Regions from separate parts of the Homo sapiens genome. Here regions 2, 3 and 4 are each linked to region 1. Evidence: promoter capture Hi-C in human tissues and cell types (Jung and others, 2019). All regions are on one chromosome and are shown on one strand. The core of a region is centred on a gene start or on the middle of the fragment in contact, and the rest is flanking DNA. Distances in the headings are between cores, read along the strand shown. Region 1 holds the start of NMRK2 (nicotinamide riboside kinase 2). Region 2 overlaps APBA3 (amyloid beta precursor protein binding family A member 3). Region 3 overlaps TJP3 (tight junction protein 3). Region 4 holds the start of PIP5K1C (phosphatidylinositol-4-phosphate 5-kinase type 1 gamma).

Evidence for each region. The method cuts DNA at HindIII sites, captures the fragments that hold promoters and counts their contacts. A contact is called where the count stands out against the background at its distance.
Region 2: a fragment that was not itself captured here is called in contact with the fragment with the promoter of NMRK2 in region 1 in 2 of the 25 tissues and cell types used here (aorta and dorsolateral prefrontal cortex).
Region 3: a fragment that was not itself captured here is called in contact with the fragment with the promoter of NMRK2 in region 1 in 1 of the 25 tissues and cell types used here (liver).
Region 4: the fragment with the promoter of PIP5K1C here is called in contact with the fragment with the promoter of NMRK2 in region 1 in 1 of the 25 tissues and cell types used here (stomach).

What each region holds. Positions count from the first base shown.
Region 1 is chr19:3,931,389-3,934,467 of GRCh38, reverse strand. NMRK2 (nicotinamide riboside kinase 2) reads right to left here and starts at 1,399. Exons shown (of 8, transcript NM_170678.3): 1 at 1,290-1,399; 2 at 771-1,010. The coding sequence starts at 796. The HindIII fragment of the contact is 37,457 bases long and covers 1-3,079 here.
Region 2 is chr19:3,752,552-3,755,569 of GRCh38, reverse strand. It overlaps APBA3 (amyloid beta precursor protein binding family A member 3), which reads left to right. Exons shown (of 11, transcript NM_004886.4): 4 at 1,230-1,375; 5 at 1,465-1,551; 6 at 1,644-1,805; 7 at 2,580-2,750; 8 at 2,850-3,018. Among named protein-coding and RNA genes, the nearest start is that of APBA3, 7.6 kb to the left of the region's middle. The HindIII fragment of the contact is 3,385 bases long and covers 1-3,018 here.
Region 3 is chr19:3,723,270-3,726,013 of GRCh38, reverse strand. All of the region lies in intron 1 of TJP3 (tight junction protein 3), which reads right to left. Among named protein-coding and RNA genes, the nearest start is that of TJP3, 16 kb to the right of the region's middle. The HindIII fragment of the contact is 5,075 bases long and covers 1-2,744 here.
Region 4 is chr19:3,699,102-3,702,103 of GRCh38, reverse strand. PIP5K1C (phosphatidylinositol-4-phosphate 5-kinase type 1 gamma) reads left to right here and starts at 1,636. Exons shown (of 18, transcript NM_012398.3): 1 at 1,636-1,807. The coding sequence starts at 1,714. RefSeq lists silencers at 1,388-1,877, 1,958-2,097 and an enhancer at 1,796-2,579. The HindIII fragment of the contact is 9,003 bases long and covers 1-3,002 here.

The DNA.
Region 1 (3,079 bases), core at 150-2,649:
CCCCACAAAGCCAGCCGTGCTGGTTACAGAGAGTTTGAATCTCTTCTAGCCTGAGGTCGCCTGAGAGAGGCTCCAAAGGCACAGTCATGTGGAATGACATTTTGGGGACCCCATCCCACCTGCCCACGTGTCAGTCCCCGATTTAGCCAGGACAGCCACGAGGCGGGAGGAGGGTTCACTGGAGCTTTAGTTAATTTTCTGTCCCTACTGATTTTTTTTTTGAGACACAGCCTCACTCTGTCGCCCAGGCTGGAGTGAAGTGGCATGATCGCACTCACTGCAACCTCCATCTCCCGGATTCAAGCGATTCTCCCACCTCAGCCTCCCCAGTAGCTGGGATTACAGGTATGCACCACCGTGCCCAGCTAATTTTTGTATTTTTAGTAGAGACGGGGTTTCACCGTGTTGGCCAGGCTGGTCTCAAATTCCTGACCTCAGGTGATCCACCCGCCTCGGCCTCCCAAAGTGCCAGGATTCCAGGCCTGAGCCACCGTGTCTGGTCTATTTTTTTTTTATGCTGAGTATAATTGGAAGGTGGCGGGAATCATTTCCATTTAAAAAATGAAACACTGGGCTCAGTGTCCAGCCCCCCTTCCCACTGGGGACACCGAGACCCCCAGGGCAGAAAATCCTCCCTGCACTCTGACCTCGGGCGGCGTGTAGGTGACCTCAGGCGCCAGGCATCCCTCCATTCATTCCCGGGCCTCCCCCTCTGCGCGCACAGGGGGCTTTGCCCCGCAGGGCCGCCCACCAGGTCCCCCGGCGCTCACCCTCCGATGCCCACGATGAGCTTCATGCCGGTGCGGAGGGGCGGCGGGGACGACTTCCAAGGCAGCCCGGGTAGGGTGCGACCACGCAGTGCGCTCCGGAGTGCGTCCCGGCTTCATTGAGAAAACCTGGCGCCTTTATAGGTCTCGGCAGCCTGGAGGCCGCCCCGGGGGAGGCGGCCCCTGGGGATGGGGCGGAGGCGCCGGCACCTGTTCCCGCCGCCGAATGGAAATAGCTCCAGGCTGCCTTTTGCCTAAATTAGTCACGAGCTGGCCGGGCAGGGGGCTGCCTCTTCCCTCCTCCCACCTCCCTGCCCTCTCTCCACTCCCTCCTCCCCTCTCCTCCCCTTCTTACCCCCTCCTCCCTCCTCTCCACCCCCACCCTCTTCCCTCCTCCTGGCCAGAGAGCTCAGATCAGCAGCCCCACACTTTTCCCTCCCTAAAAATATCCCGCTCTCTGTGTCCTATGGCCTGACCCTGACATTAAGACTGGTTCTCGTGGCGTCAAGGAAGCGAACTCACCCACCCCCGCCCGCACAGCAGCCCTAGAGGCCGGGACCCTGCGGGGAGCTTCGTTTTCCAACGAGGTCAGGGCCAAGGTGGGCTTAAGATCCTTAGCAGTGAATCACAAGATAGCCTTGCCCAGGTGACCGGGGGCCCAGCCACAGGATCTCAGCGTGACACCAGGGACCATTCATCCCGTGCCTGCCTTGTGGGTGGAGTCATTTGACTGGGGGCCGGCGGGGCGGGGAGGGGGTAATGGGGAGGAATGACACTCTGCTGCTTCTCTCTTCTACTGGTAAAGGGAAAAAGTATTCTCTTATTAAATGTTTTAATTTTTTTTTTTTAATTTCAGATGGAGCCGGGTGCAGTGGCTCACGCCTGTAATCCCAGCACTTTGGGAGGCCGAGGCGGGCGGATCACGAGGTCAGGAGTTCGAGACCAGCCTGGCCAGCATGGTGAAACCCCGTCTCTACTAAAAATACAAAAAAAATTAGCTGGGCATGGTGGCACACGCCTGTAGTCCCAGCTACTTGGGAGGCTGAGGCAGGAGAATCGTTTGAACCTGGCAGGTAGAGGTTGCAGTGAGCTGAGATTGTGCCACTGCACTCCAACCTGGGCGACAGAGCGAGACTCCGTCTCAAAAAAATAAAATAAAATAAAATAAAAATAAATAAATTTGAAACAGAGTTTTGCTCTGTCACCCAGGCTGGAGTGCAGTGGTACCATCTTGGCTTACTGTAACCTCTGCCTTCCAGGTTCAAGCAATTCTCCTTCGTCAACCTCCCCAATAGCTGGGATTACAGGCGAGCACCAACACGCCCAGATAATTTTTGTATTTTTAGTAGAGACGGGGTTTCACCATGTTGGCCAGGCTGGTCTTGAACTCCTGACCTCAGGTGATCTGCCCGCCTCAGGCCTCCCAAAGTGCTGGGATTACAGGTGTGAGCCACCATGCCCAGCCTACATTTTTGAATTTTTTGAGACAGGGTCTCGCTCTGTGGCCCAGGCTGGAGTGTGGTGATGTGATCACAGCTCACTGCAGCCTCAACTTCTCACACTGGGGCGATCTTTCTGCTTCAGCCTCCCGAGCAGCTGAGACTACAGGTTCGCACCACCACACCTAACTTTAAAATTTTTTGTAGAGATGGGGTCTTGCCATGTTGCCCAGGTTGGTCTTGAACTCCTGGCCTCACGTGATGATTCCTCCAACTCGGCCTCCCAAAGTGCTGGGATTACAGGCATGTGACGCCTCTCCCCACCAGAAAATAATTTTTCTGATGCTTCTTAAAACAGTAAGGCTGACTTTGTTGAGGCGGGTGAGGGACTACTACCATGGGGTTTTGTAGTATGGGAGGGAGATTGAATTCAATCTTCTCCCTTTCCACCAATACAAGGAAAAGTGGGAAATTATAGCCCAGGAGCAGGGGGGTGATCAGAGGATGGGAAGTGACTAGGAAGGTGGGGTGATAGGATGGCCAAGTTTGTATGTCTGTATGCAGTAAGAGATCAATACACCAAAGAGAGAGAGAATTTTTAAGAGATGAGGTCTTGTTACATTGCCTAGGCGGGTCTCTAACTCCTGGCCTCAAGTGATCCTTCCTCCTTGGCCTCCCAAAGTACTGGGATTACAGGCTTAAGCCACCACGCCCGACCAATGATGTACTTTATGAGTCCTGTTAACAGAATTGTGACCCTGGACTTCAAGAGCTTTTGCAAAATGGACTGGAAATCTTGGGGTATTCATGAGGAAAGCTCAGAAAAAGCAGTCAGCCACAGGATCTGTGGCAGTGCAGCGGGGTGGCTATGTC
Region 2 (3,018 bases), core at 349-2,848, 180 kb after region 1:
CCCCCCCCCCGGCCTCCTAAAGTGCTGGGGTTACAGACGTGAGCCACCGCACCCAGCCAGGAGTAAAGCTTTATGTAGTTCTGGGCTGGGTTGGGAGTATTCTGGAACTGTCTAGAATTCTCCTGGAACAGAATTGTTTGTTCCTTGACTGGTCAGGTAATTCTTAGAATCCCTGGTGTAGCCAAAGGTGTGAACTACTGAAGGAGATTCTAGAACCACAGGAAGAGCTGCCTGACGCGATTGTGATTAAGATGTTCTGGAATCACGGAGCAGAGAAGTCTGATTCTAGAGTGATAATAAGATTCTAAAACTCCTGACAGAATTGCTATGAGACCTGTCAGAGAGTTCTGGAATCAAGGGTCAGAACCAGCTGGGGTTCTGGAGAGTATGGGAATTTTAGACAGGCAGCAGGGTCTGTCTCTGTTCTGAGTGGTTCTACAACCCGGGAACAGAGCTGCCTGCTATCCTGGGCTGACTGCAGACGGTTCTAGAACAGTGGGCAGAGCTGGCCAGTTCTAGATTGATGGAGGGAATTCCAGAACCAAGAAGCAGGGGTCCACTGTGGTTCTAGAATGTTGTGGAGGTTTCGAAATTGGAGTGGGGGGTGGAGCGTCGTGGCTCACGCCTGTCATCCCAGTACTTTAGGAGGCCAAGGCGGGTGGATCACTTGAGGTCGGGAGTTTGAGACCAGCCTGGCCAACGTGGCGAAACCCCGTCTCTACTAAAAATACAAAAACTAGCCAGGCGTGGTGGTGGGCGCCTGTAATCCCAGCTACTCATGAGACTGAGGCAGGAGAATCGTTTGAACCCAGGAAGCGGAGGTTGCAGTGAGCTGAGATCACACCACCGAGCTCCAGCCTGGGCGACAGAGCGAGACCGTGTCTCAAAAAAGCAGGAGTGGGACTGTCTGGTTCCGGCCTGATCATGGAATTCTGGGGACACGGGGTGAAGGTATCTGTGGGTGCTAGATCTGGCTTTGAATCCAGCCATGGCCTGGACTCACTGGTTTCCCACCTGCGAGTCCTTGAGGGATGGACAGAAGGTTCTAGACCTGTGAGGGCCAGGCTGCTTGGATGGTTCTAGAACAGTGGGCTGTGCTTCCTGGCTGGAGAGTGCTAAGCCACCAGCTAGAACACTGTGTCTCCCGGCCATCTCGGAGAGCGTAGCCCTGGGGCAGAGCCTGTGGGAGTGGGCCCCTGGGGGCCGACCCTCTTCGCTGTCGCCCTCAGTGCCTGGTCCCTGTGACCATGAAGACCTCCTGGACGGTGTCATATTTGGGGCCAGGTACCTGGGGTCCACCCAGCTGGTGTCGGAACGGAACCCGCCCACCAGCACGCGCATGGCCCAGGCCCGGGAGGCCATGGACCGCGTCAAGGTGAGGGGGCGGCCGGGGCCGGGCGGGCAGGCGGGTGGGCTGCAGGCTGGGTCTGTGGGGGCCTCCACCTCCCACGCCGCCACCCACAGGCCCCCGATGGGGAGACCCAGCCCATGACGGAGGTGGACCTGTTCGTCTCCACCAAGAGGATCAAGGTCTTGACAGCGGACTCCCAGGTACGGGGCAGGGACCCGCCCCAGGGATGCGGGTGGGGTGATCGAGCCTGGCACGGCCCCCCAACCCACCCAGGCTGCCTCTCCCGCCCCAGGAGGCCATGATGGACCACGCCCTGCATACCATCTCCTACACAGCCGACATCGGCTGCGTGCTGGTGCTGATGGCGCGGCGGCGGCTGGCACGGAGGCCGGCACCCCAGGACCACGGCCGCCGCCTCTACAAGATGCTCTGCCACGTATTCTACGCGGAGGACGTGAGCAGCCAGGGCGCGGGGCCACCCTCCTGAGGCCCTCCTCACTGCAACTGTCGCCTCCCTCAGTGGGCCGTGCATTTAACCTCCCTCCCATAAGCTTATTTTTAAATTCTTTTTTTGGGACAAGGTCTCCTTCTGTCACCCAGGCTGGAGTGCAGTGGCGCAATCATAGTTCACTGCAGCCTCAACCTTCCAGGCTCAAGCGATCCTCCCACTTCAGCCTCTCTAGTAGCTGGGACCACCGGGGTATCACCATGCCTGGCTAATTTTTGTATTTTTTATAGAGACACGGTCTCGCTCTGTTGCCCAGGTGAACACGGTCTCAAACTCCTGGGCTCAAGCGATCCACCCACCTCAGCCTCCCAAAGTGCTGCAATTACAGGCGTGAGCCACCGCGTCCAGCCTCCTATAAGACTCCAAGACTCTCGGCCGACTCCCCGAAACCTTGCCCGCTCCTGGGCTGTCCCTGCCACCCATGAGGCCCCAGGCCCCCTGGCTGGGTCTTTGATAGCTTTTCCCACAGCCCATGCGCAGGGAGCTGCCTCCCTCATCGTCCCCCCAGCCCAGGGCTGCCCCTCCCCTTCCTTCTCCCCGTAGATTCCCCAAGATGCGGCTGTCTCTCCACCTCCCCCAAAGCCCCAGGGCAGAAGGCTGTGTCCTGGGACTCTCACCCCAGGTGGGGACAGGAGGGCTCAGCTCTGAGGACCCTGGGGACTTTGGGGACCTGGAGGAGGTGGGTGGGACACCCCAGGGACGCGCCACTCCTCCCCGCAGGCCCAGCTCATCGCCCAGGCCATTGGCCAGGCCTTCGCCGCCGCCTACAGCCAGTTCCTACGGGAAAGCGGTATTGACCCCAGCCAGGTGGGCGTGCACCCGAGCCCAGGCGCCTGCCACCTCCATAATGGGGACCTGGACCACTTCTCCAACAGTGACAACTGCCGGGAGGTGAGTGAGGTGCTGGGCAGCCCCCACCTGGTGCCCCCCACACCCGTGCACCTGCACCGGGCCCTGCTGAGCAGCCTCCGCGCCCCCTGTGTGTCCCAGGTGCACCTCGAGAAGCGGCGAGGGGAGGGCCTGGGCGTGGCCCTGGTGGAGTCGGGCTGGGGCTCCCTGCTGCCCACAGCCGTCATCGCCAACCTGCTGCACGGGGGGCCTGCTGAGCGCTCGGGGGCCCTCAGCATCGGGGACCGCCTGACCGCCATCAACGGGACCA
Region 3 (2,744 bases), core at 158-2,657, 210 kb after region 1:
CTGATCTCCAGGAGTGGGAAGGCGGGTGGAGGGGAGAGAAACAGAGCAGAGGGCAGGGCTCTGCAGTTCTGAAGGAGCCAGGGCAGCGCTCAGGACTGGACTCAAATCCCAAGTCTGCCCACCCGTGCTAGCTATGGCGGGGCCTCTCCCAGCCTCAGTCTCCCCATCTGTGAAATGGCACTGCTGCCCTGTCTTGCAGGGATGTGGTTTGGGAAAAGGGTACAGATTCAATGCCTGAAAAGCAAAAAGCAGAAGGAGCCTTGGGGAGGTGGTGGCCAAATAATGACTTTCTCCTTGTGTAGTTTTTTTTTTTTTTTTTGAGATGGGGTTTTTTGCTCTTGTTGCCCAGGCTGGAGTGCAATGGCGTAGTCTCGGCTCACTGCAACCTCCACCTCCTGGGTTCAAGTTATTCTCCTGACTCAGCCTCCCGAGTAGCTGGGATTATAGGCACCCACAACCACAGCCAGCTACTTTTTGTATTTTTAGTAGAGACGGGGTTTCACCATGTTGGTCAGGCTGTCTTGAACCTGGCTGCAAGCAGGCGCTTGATGTGGACCCATTCATTTCATCCTCAGAGTGACCTTAGGAAGTGGCACAGTTATTATTCCTACTTTAGAGGTGAGATTAAAAGGGGCCTAGAGAGGTTCAGTAACTTGCCTGAGGTCACGCAGCACAGTGGTGAACTTGGCAGCCTGCCCTGTTCTCTGGCTCTTTTTTGGTTGGTTGGTTGGTTGATTGGTTGTTTGGTTTTTGAGACGGGGTTTCACTCTGTTGCCCAGGCTGGAGTGCAGTGGCTCAATCACAGCTCACTGCAGCCTTGAACTCCCAGGCCCAAGGGATCCTCCTGCTTCAGCCTCCCAGGTAGCTGGGACCACAGGCATGCACCACCACACACAGCATATTTTTTTGTTTTTTTGTAGAGATGGGGTTTTGCTATGTTGACCAAGCTGGTCTCAAATTCCTGGGCCCAAGCGATCCTCCCACCTCAGCCTCCTAAAGTGTTGGAATTACAGGCGTGAGCCACCGCACCCAGCCTCACTCTTGCTCTTAACCACCAGGCTACAGTGGCTTTCTGATTATTTACTCTTTTTCTTCTGAGCTTATTTTTCAAAACTGCATCTTTTTTTTTTTTAACCTGCTTTGATGTTATACTTTGTGTCATTAAATGGCCCCAGGGCCGGGCACGGTGGATTCTGCCTATAATCTCAGCACTTTGGGAGACCGAGGCAAGAGGATTGCTTGAGCCCAGGAGTTCAAGACCAACCTGAGCAACATAGTGAGACCCTCATCTCTACAAAAAAATACAAAAATTAGCCGGGCATGGTGGCATGCACCTGTGGTCCCAGCTCCTCGAGAGGCTGAGGCAGAAGGATCACCTGAGCCCAGGAGGTCGAGGCTGCAGTGAATTGTGATCGTGCCTCTGCACTCCAGCCTGGGCGACAGAGCAAGACCCTGTCTCAAAAAAAATTTTTAAATGGCCCCAAGGAATTTGTATTTCCTGACTTTAAGAGACAGCCCTGCCCGGGCACAGTGGCTCATGCCTGTAATCCCAGCACTTTGGGAGGCTGAGGCAGGCAGACCACAAGGTCAGGAGATCGAGACTATCCTGGCTAACATGGTGAAACCCCGTCTCTACTAAAAATACAAAAAATTAGCAGGGCGTGGTGGCCGGCGCCTGTAGTCCCAGCTACTCAGGAGGCTGAGGCAGGAGAATGGCGTGAACCTGGGAGGCGGAGCTTGCAGTGAGCCAAGATTGTGCCACTGCACTCCAGCCTGGGCGACAGAGGGAAACTCCGTCTCAAAAAAAAAAAAGAGACAGCCCCAGGGAACCAGGGCCCCCGAACCCAGAGTGGGAGAGGGGCGAGGGAGTCCAGGTGGTCCAGGCTTGTCCCAGCTTGTGCGGGTTCGTCTCCATGGAAACCAGAAGCTTTGTCTAAACCCTCCAGAGCTCCACAGTGCCTGAGGGATTAAGCCTAACCTCACAGCCCACCTCATCTTAGTTCACCTCCAAACCTTTACCCCATCTGTCCCCTGAATCTGGGACATGTTTCACGGGATTCCTGCCTGGCTGGCCCCTGCCACTGAGGTCTAGGCTCAAATGCCACCTCCTCAGGAAGTCCTCCCTGACCACCTAGCTAACCAGTCTTCTCTGATCCCCTATCACTCCTGCCTATTTTATTATTTTATATATATATATATATATATTTTTTTTTTTTCTTTTGAGACAGAGTGTCACTCTGTCACCCAGGCTGGAGTGTAGTGACACAATCTCAGCTCACTGCAACCTCCGCCTCCTGGGTTCCAGCAATTCTCGTGCCTCAGCCTCCCAAGTAGCTAGAATTACAGGCGTCCAACCACCACGCCCGGCTAATTTTTGTATTTTTAGTAGAGGTGGGGGTTCACCATGTTGGCCAGGCTGGGCTCAAACTGCTGACCTCAGGTGATCCACCTCCCTCAGCCTCCCAAAGTGCTGGGATTACAGGAGTGAGCCACCACGCCCAGCCTGTTTTATTATTTTTTATTCAAGGCATCTAAAAATCATCTTTATTCTCTTTAACCATCGGTTAGTATGTTTCTGGTCTTTCCTCTTAGGCTGTGAAAGGAGACATGTCTGTCTCTCTGGCTACTTAAGGCCCAGGTGATTGGCCATCAGCCTCCTTTCCAGGCCTTGAGTGCTGGTACTGGACTCCCTGGCAAACTCCTATTCATCCTTCACAGCCCCAGCCTCTTCCTCCGTACGCATA
Region 4 (3,002 bases), core at 387-2,886, 230 kb after region 1:
ACGATGGAATATAAATATTATTTGCAATATGATAATAAACAGGTAGTTAATTGCAAATGTTATTGATATGTATTGCGTAGATCAATGTTAATAACATGTATTGTGTAGATCTATATATATATATATTTTTTTTTGATATGGAGTCTCGCTCTGTTGCCCAGGCTGGAGTGCAGTGACACGATCTCAGCTCACTGCAAGCTCTGCCTCCCAGGTTCACCCTATTCTCCTGCCTTAGCCTCCCAAGTAGCTGGGACTACAGGCGCCCGCCACCACGCCTGGCTAATTTTTTGTATTTTTAGTAGAGACGGGGTTTCACCATGTTAACCAGGATGGTCTCAATCTCCTGACCTCGTGATCCGCCCGCCTCGGCCTCCCAAAGTCTTGGGATTACAGGCATGAGCCACCGCGCCCGGCCCTGTGTAGATCAATATTATTTACATGTACTGTGTATATCACTGTTATTGGTATATTTTGTGCATATCAATGTTATTGACATGTAGTGTGTATATCAATGTTATTGACATGTAGTGTGTACATTAATGTTATTGGCATGTAGTGTGTATATCAATGTTATTGGCATGTAGTGTGTATATCCATGTTATTGGCATGTAGTGTGTATATCAATGTTATTGACATGTAGTGTGTGTATCAATGTTAGTTACATGTATTGTGTAGATCAATGTTATTGGTATTCATTGTGTATAGCAATGTGATTGGCATGTATTGCATATAGCAATGCTATTTGTATGTTTTATGTAGATCCATGTCAATGATATAGTATAGATTCATGTTATTGGCATGTATTGTGTATATCCATGTTATTGGCATGTATTGTGCATATCCGTGTTATTGGCATGTATTGTGTATATCCATGTTATTGGCATGCATTGGGTAACTCCATGTTATTGGCATGTGCTGTGTAGGTCCATGTGTGGTTTTTTTTGGGACAGAGTCTCACTCTGTGGCCCAGGCTGGAGGGCAATGGTGCGATCTCAGCTCACTGCAACCTCTCCCTCCTGGGTTCCAGCGATTCTCCTGCCTCAGCCTCCCGAGTAGCCGCGATTACAGGCATGTGCCACCACGCCCAGCTATTTTTTGTATTTTTAGTAGAGACAGGATTTCACCATGTTGGTCAGGATGGTCTTGAACTCCTGACCTCAGGTGATCCGCCCTCTTCGGCCTCCCAAAGTGCCGGGAATATAGGCGTGAGTCACCGCGCCCGGCCAGATCCATGTTATTGTCATGCGCTGTGCAGGTCCCTGTTATTGGCATGTGCTGTTTAGATCCATGTTATTGGCATGTGCTGTGTACATCCATATTATTGGCACGTGCTGTATAGATCCATATTATTGTCATGTGTTGTGTAGATCCATGTTATTGGTATGTGTTGTGCACAGCAATGTTATTGATACGTATCGTGCCTGTCAATCTTACTGACCTAATACGATGGAATGGCGAGCCTGGCTCTGTACTCCCACCCCTGGGCGCGAGGGGGCACTCGAGGCGCTCCTGGCTGCGGGTCGCAAGCAGGCCCCGCCCCCGAGCCCCGATTGGCCGCGCGCCGTCCGCGGCGTCGCACGCACGCAGGCCCCGCCCCGTCCGCCCCGCGCCGGCCCGGCGCGCCCTCCCTTGGCCGGCGGCGCTTGTTGTTCGGCGGCGGCGGTCGCAGCTCGGGTCCCCCTCGGGCGCCCCCGCCGCCGTCCGCGCGCGGCCATGGAGCTGGAGGTACCGGACGAGGCGGAGAGCGCTGAGGCGGGGGCCGTGCCCTCGGAGGCGGCGTGGGCGGCAGAGAGCGGGGCGGCGGCAGGTAACGGCCCGGCCTCCCGGGGCTGCGGCCCGCTGGGCTCGTCCGAGCGCCGAGAGTCGCGGGGCTGCGGGGCCGGGGCGGGGGCTGCACGGTCGCTGCGGGGGCGCCGCCGGTTCCAGGAGCCTGGGGCGGGGCAGTCCCCTGGAGCCGCGGGGAGGACGGGGCTGAAGCCGCGCCGGGAAGCGGGAGGCCTGCGAGGGGCTACCTCCCACCGCTCCCGGGCCGGGGGCGACTCGGCGTGGGCGCCGCTGGGGATCCCCGTTCTGCCTGACCCGCTCCCAGGGGCTGCCCGTCGTGTGAGTGGCGGCTGCTTGGGTGGAGGCGGGGGTCTCTGAGGCCGTGCGTGCCCACCTCCTGATGTCACCTCCCTTTCTGTAAGTCCCCAGACCTGAGTCCGGGTGCGCGACCTTTCCTCACCTTCCTGGGCCTCAGTTTACCTCCCTGCTAAAATGAGGGGAGGAAAAGGGTTACATCTCAAGATGCCTCCACCGCCCCGGCTGTGCACACAGGGTGCCCTGTCGCCCCCTTTTCCTCTCCCCGAGCCTTCCCCCAGGACACACTGGTGGGGCTGCGGGCTGGGCGGGGGGCACGGCTGTCTCATGCCCCCTTTAGCTGCTTCCTGGACCTCCAGCCGGGTAGGTGGCGGCAGCTGGGCCTTCCCTTCTGTGGGGACGGTGTGCAGAGCCCAGAGGAAGGGAACAGTTCCTTCTCAGTCGAGGTCACAAGCTCCCAAATCGGAAGTTTCCGGATTCACAAAATCCTCTGCTCCTCCCAGGCAGCCAGCAGCAGCGTCTCTGTAGACACCCACACGGGCATCCGTCCTCCTTCTCCCCCCAGGCCTCCCGAAGCTTCCTTGGTTGGCAGGCGGGCAAGCGGGCGGGCGGGCGATGCGTGCTGCCTGGGAGTTGGGGAGATGTCTGGAGAGAGAGAGAGTGTGGAAGTCATCAAGTCCCCCCCCCACCCCCCGCCTTGAAAGACACTCGTGGCTTCCCTCCCGGCGGCCATCTGGAACCGCTTGGTAGGTGACCCGGTTCCTTCCCCAGAGCCAGTGGCCTCGCCCCTTTCTTTGCGGGCAGCCGGTGTCCTGGCCTGGCCAGCAAGAGACATGGTGGAGGAACCCAGGCAGGGCACCAGGCCCCAGCCCGGGTTCCTTTCTTGGGCCCCCCAACTTCCGCTGTCAGCCCTCTGACCCCAG